2 separate regions of the Homo sapiens genome follow, and region 1 is linked to region 2. Evidence: promoter capture Hi-C in 16 types of primary human blood cells and fetal thymus (Javierre and others, 2016). All regions are on one chromosome and are shown on one strand. Each heading gives the region's core, a stretch centred on a gene start or on the middle of the fragment in contact. The rest is flanking DNA. Distances are from core to core; before and after follow the strand shown. Region 1 overlaps ZHX3 (zinc fingers and homeoboxes 3). Region 2 holds the start of ZHX3 (zinc fingers and homeoboxes 3).

Region 1 (2,700 bases), core at 20-2,519, 45 kb after region 2:
CCAACCGACACCCTGTCCAACTACAGTTGATACTTTAAGCTCTGACTCTCAAGCTTCTGTGAGCAAAATCTTTGGCGAAGTAGCTAATGTGACATAATCAATTTGGGGGGATTTGAACTACATGAAAAAGAGTTCCTGATACTGTTCTGCGAAGTCTGTTAAACAACTTAACTCTTATCAGTGAACAAATAAGCTTCGTGCATCTCTGTTCCTCTACTGGGAACTGAAGATAATGAAACTTAATTATAAATCAGGAAAATGAAAATCCTTAAGTTCTGACCTTTTCCATAGCCCAAAGCAAACAAAACAGACGTTACATAATTTACCTTCATTCTCTGGAGTATGAATTTTGGATTACCAATGGCAAGTATAAACTTCATATTTGTGACATACTCCAGGATATTAGTAAATTACCATAGCGATACAGACAGCTAAAGAAGTTAGTGTATCACCTTATCAAGGACATTTTAAAATAACCTTAAAATTACATCATAGAATGGAAAGACATCCATGGATTAGAATACTTAAAGATGGCAATACTACTCAAAGTGATGTAAAGATTCAGTGCAATCTTGACCAAAATTCCAGTACCTATTTTTGCAGAAATAGGAAAGCTGATCCTAAAATTCATATAGAATTGCAAGGGACCCTGAATAGTCAAAACAATCTTGAAAAAGAAAAACAAAGTTGGAGTATTCATGCTTCCCAATTTCAAAAGATACTACAAAGCTACAATAATCAAAATAGGTATAAGCATAAGAATAGACATATAGATCAGTGGAATAAAACTGAGAGTCCAGAAATAAACCTGTACATCTGTGACCTTTGAGAACAGTGCCAAGATGATTCACTGGGGAAAGGACAATCTCTTTAACAAATGGTGCAGGTACAACTGGTTATCTACATGCAAAAGAATGAAGTTGGACCCCACACATATTAAAATTAACTCAAAATGGACCAAATAACTAATTATAAGAGTTAAGACTATAAACTCTTAGAAGAAAACATAAGGGTAAATCTTCATGACCTTGGATTTGGTAATGGATTCTTAGAAACACACCAAAAGCACAAGCAACGAAAGAAAAAATAGACAAATTGGATGGCATCAAATGTTAAAATTTTGCAGCAAAGGATGCTATCAAGTAAGTGGAAAGGCAACCTGCAGAATGGGAGGAGATATCTGCAAATCTGTTAAAAAACAAACAAAACAAAACGAAAAACTCTTAACAACTGAACAACAGAAAAGATAACCCAATTAAAATATGGGCAAGGGACTTGAATAGACATTTTGTAAAGATATGCAAATGGCCAAGAAACATATGAAAAGATTTCCTGGGTCATTGGTCATTAAGGAAATGCAAATCAAAGCCACAATGATATACCATTTCACACCTACTAAGATGTCTATACTTTAAAAACAAAACAAAAACAAAATTACAAGCATTGATGAGAATGTGGAGAAATTAGAACCTTGTACTTTGCTGGTGGGAATGTAAAATGTTGAAGCCACTGTGGGAAACAGTGTAGTAGTTCCTCAAAAAGTTCCGTATAGAATTACCATATGACCCAGCAATTCCACTCCTGTTTATATGTCCAGTAATTGAAAACAAGTATCAGACAAATACTTGTACACTCATGTTCATGGCAACACTATTCACAATAGCCAAAAGATGGAAACAACCCAAATGTCTATCAATGAATGAATGGATGAGCAAGATGTGCATCTATATACAGTGGAATATTTTTCAGCCATAAATTGGAATGAAGTACTGATGCATGCTGCAATGTAGATGAACTTTGAAACATTATGCAGAGTGAAAGAAAGCCAACCGAAAAGGTCACATATTGTTTGATTGCATTTTTAGGGAATATCCACAAGAGGTAATTTTATGGAGACATAAAGCATATTAGTGGTTGTCAGGAGTTGGAGGAGGAGGAGGAGGAGGAATAGAAGTGACTGCTTAATGAGTACAAGGTTCATTTTGGGGTGATGAAAATATTTCATCAGTAATGTAAGGTAATGGTAAATGTGATGGTTGCATGATACTGTGAATGTGCTAAATGCCACTGAATTGTACATTTAAAAATGGTTAATGTTATATGAATTTTCAATTTTTAAAATTACATCATATAATTTCTGTGATCTCACAGATAACTGTGGCTTTGCTGTCATAGTTACCTTGTGACTGTTGGAACCCATGTGCTTTGTACATTGGGAAGTTCTTTCCAGCTCTGGACAGGAAAACATGAAAACAGATGATCCCAAGGAGGTTTCTCCCTAAACTAACAATTAAAGAATATAGTTTTACTTTTTCATTTTTATTTGTTGAAACTGGTAAAGCTTCTACCTTGAGTGGGTCTGGGTTGTTTTAAAATTTATCAGACCACATTGGTCTGATATTGTTTCCTTCATTTAATTTGAAAAAGCTTGTTTAAAATAACTATTTGGAGATGGAATAATTTTTTGGTTTTATGAAAATTTAAAGGAATTGTAAAAGAATCTAAGACATACTTATGGAATTGCAGTCAAGTTTTTCTGGTGATTTTGTAAGCTACACTCCTAGAGATTTTTGTAATACTTTCTAAAATCATTTCAATTTTTTTTTTATTGTCAGTGACCTTGGTGTCAGGAATAAGAAAATTGTATTCAGATCAGTCAAGCAGAGCCTGTGCAAAAACGAAAAACATTAATTTTTTATT
Region 2 (2,700 bases), core at 42-2,541:
AGGCAGGAGGCTACTACAATATTCCAGGAAAGAGGAAAAGGGGTATTTTAAAGGTAGAGCTGACAGGCTTTTCTAATGGGTTGCATGTGGGATATGATAGGGAGAGTGGAGTCCAGGATGACTCCAATGGTTTGTCTGGAGTCATCAGAAGAATGGAGTTGACATGAACTGAGGTAGGGAAGGTTGTGAAAGGAGCAAGCTAAGGTGCCACGTATGGGTGTTTGACTATCGACTTGTTTACTTGGACACATCGCTCACACTTGTGTATATGCTCCCTGGTTTTCAGGATCTGAAGGTTCTAAAGTTACTTGAAGTTAAAGGCAGCCTTACTTATTGAACACCAAGCACTGTGCAGAAATCTTTATATGTGGTGTCATTTAACCCTTTTAATATTTCTACTGATTTACTCATGTTTCATTGCCCTTTTACAGTTGAGAGATTAACACGTCCAAAGTCACTCAGACAATTATTAACCTGCTAGATTAATGCAGATCTGGGATTCCCATCCAGGTGTGTCAAGACCGTAGAGCTCCTGCTGTTTACTAATCACTGGATTCTAAAGGTGGGAGCCACTTTCTGAGCATATTTGCTGCAGACTTGGTTCCATAACTAAAAAGGTGCCTGGATCATGTGACGAGAATTCAGGAAAGAACCCAACCCCATCCCAGGCATTACAGGTTATACAACAGCTATGAAGAAAGGACGGTATTAGTGGACTCGAGGAGGCTGACTGATGTTTGAAAGTTCAAGTACTTGAAGACTCAATGTTAAAACAGTGATCAAGAGTTAGTTTTTTTGTTATTATTCTTAAGAAAACAGAAAATATTAAAAATTGCAGTGAACCCTTGGTTGGATAAAAGACCACTCCTAGTCGACGCTTGTTGGGAAACACTGGAATTGGAGGAGTGGGGGCAGACAGGAGCGAGAGCCCCTGCCAGCCTACACACACATCCTTTTGAAAGTGTAACCTGGTGTGACCTTCTTTAAGTGGTCCTCTGGAAAGAGCAGGATATGGAGTACAAAAGCCAGGAACCTCTGGGACCGCAGCATCCGCCCCCAGCGCCTCCTTCCCCGTCTTCTTCAGCCTCCACACGGTGGGGCGGGGAGGAGGGGGGAGGAGGAGTGCTGGCGCATGCGCCGGGGGCAAGGTCCGCTCCCCGCGACGTCAGGGGGCTCGCACCCGCTCGAAAGCCCCGCCCCGCGGCCGCCAGAGGCGACCTGGGCGGACTGGGGGGCCTGGGCCACGCCCCCAGCCGAGTCGAGCAAGGCCGAGGGGAGCCGTGCAAGGCCGAGCAGAGCCGAGCGCCTCCGAGAGCGGCCGAGCCCAGCCGAGCGGCCCGGAGTCGGTTGGTGCAGCTGCGTCCCCGCCGCTCAGCAGTCCGCGGCTCCGGCGTCGCCGCCGCCGCCGCCTCTGCGGGGCCTGCGCCGGCCGCCCGCCCGGCCGCGGGGAGGGAGGCCCGCAGCGCGGGAAGAGCGGCCCGGTCGCGGGCGCCGCCACCGCCGCCGCTGCCAGGTGAGCGCCCGCCACGGCCAGCCGGCCCCGCGTGCCCCCGCGGCTGTCAGTCCCCGGTGTCTGTATCTCTCTCTGCCTGTCAGACCCTGTGTCTGCGCGAGCTCCTTCCCGCCACGCCTGGCCCGCGGCCGGCCCGCAGTCTCAGTCAGCCCCCTCCCGCCGGCTGCCCCTGGTCTTTCTGTCAGCCGCCAGCACCCCCATGCTGAGAGGCTCCGCCCCTTCCCCCCGGAGCCCCGCCCTCCGCCATCTGTCATCACCCCCCGGGCTCCAGGAGCGGGCGTCCAGGGGTCCTAGGGGTCAGGGTAGCCCCGCGTGCCACCATCGTAGAAGGCGCAAAAGGGGGTGGTAGAGGGGAAGCGGGGGCGTTCGCGCAGGCCCGCCTGACCGTGTGAGAGTGCATGCCCGAGTGTGCGTTCCGCGTGTGCACCCGAGAGCCGCCTGCGTCCACGCCCGAGGGCCCTTGCACTCTGCTGGGATGTGGCAGCCCATGCCCCCGGTGTAAAGAGCGTCAGCTCGACCAGTGAAGGCGGCAGAGCCAGGACTCGAACCACTCGGGGTACAGTAGCACCCTGAATCTTGGGACCCTTGTCTGCCCACGCGAAAACACTACACGTGGGCCCCAGGTCCTCGGATTCCCTGAGTGGCGTGTGAGTGGAGTTTGGAGCTTGTTAAGCCTTCCCAGTTTGGGATTTTCATTCAGGGAAGCCTGTTGGAAGTGATTGAGGAGTGGATGGGATGTAGGACTTAGGTGGGGAGTGTTTGAGGGCTTGAGTCATTTTGAGTTGCATGGTTTACATTTCTGAGCAGTGATTGCCCTGGGCTTGTGCCCTGCGAGAAACTTATGTGACTTGGGGTGGGGGAGTGAGGTAGGAAGGAATGCTCCTTTCTGTTTTTATCTATGTGAACACATAGTATATATTTATCCAGATATCCTAAATGTTTATTCATGAGGCGTCCACACGTCCTTAATTTAAAAAAGGATTACAGTAGTTTCCATTTATACACGTTCTTGTGTGTTGTTATCTCAATGCTCTTTATTTGTGGTAACTTAGTATTGCAATATTTCAAAACTAAGAGAAAATGCATCCTAAAACAATTGGTATTTTGCCGGATAATTCTGAACCACGGAGAAGGAGCCAAAAGCGCACTTCATTAGCTGGAACAACTTATTCGAGCTTAATTTGTTT

The links. Contacts are between HindIII fragments. The CHiCAGO score rates a contact against its expected background, and 5 or more counts as called.
Region 1: a contact is called between a fragment that was not itself captured here and the fragment with the promoter of ZHX3 in region 2, in 9 of 17 cell types (activated CD4 T cells, erythroblasts, endothelial precursors and 6 more). The highest score is 8.2, in activated CD4 T cells.

The regions. Positions count from the first base shown.
Region 1 is chr20:41,271,774-41,274,473 of GRCh38, reverse strand. The region is part of intron 1 of ZHX3 (zinc fingers and homeoboxes 3); the gene reads left to right. Among named protein-coding and RNA genes, the nearest start is that of ZHX3, 45 kb to the left of the region's middle. The HindIII fragment of the contact is 2,148 bases long and covers 196-2,343 here.
Region 2 is chr20:41,316,322-41,319,021 of GRCh38, reverse strand. ZHX3 (zinc fingers and homeoboxes 3) reads left to right here and starts at 1,291. Exons shown (of 4, transcript NM_001384317.1): 1 at 1,291-1,513. RefSeq lists an enhancer at 862-911 and silencers at 1,022-1,471, 1,482-1,771. The HindIII fragment of the contact is 7,702 bases long and covers 1-2,700 here.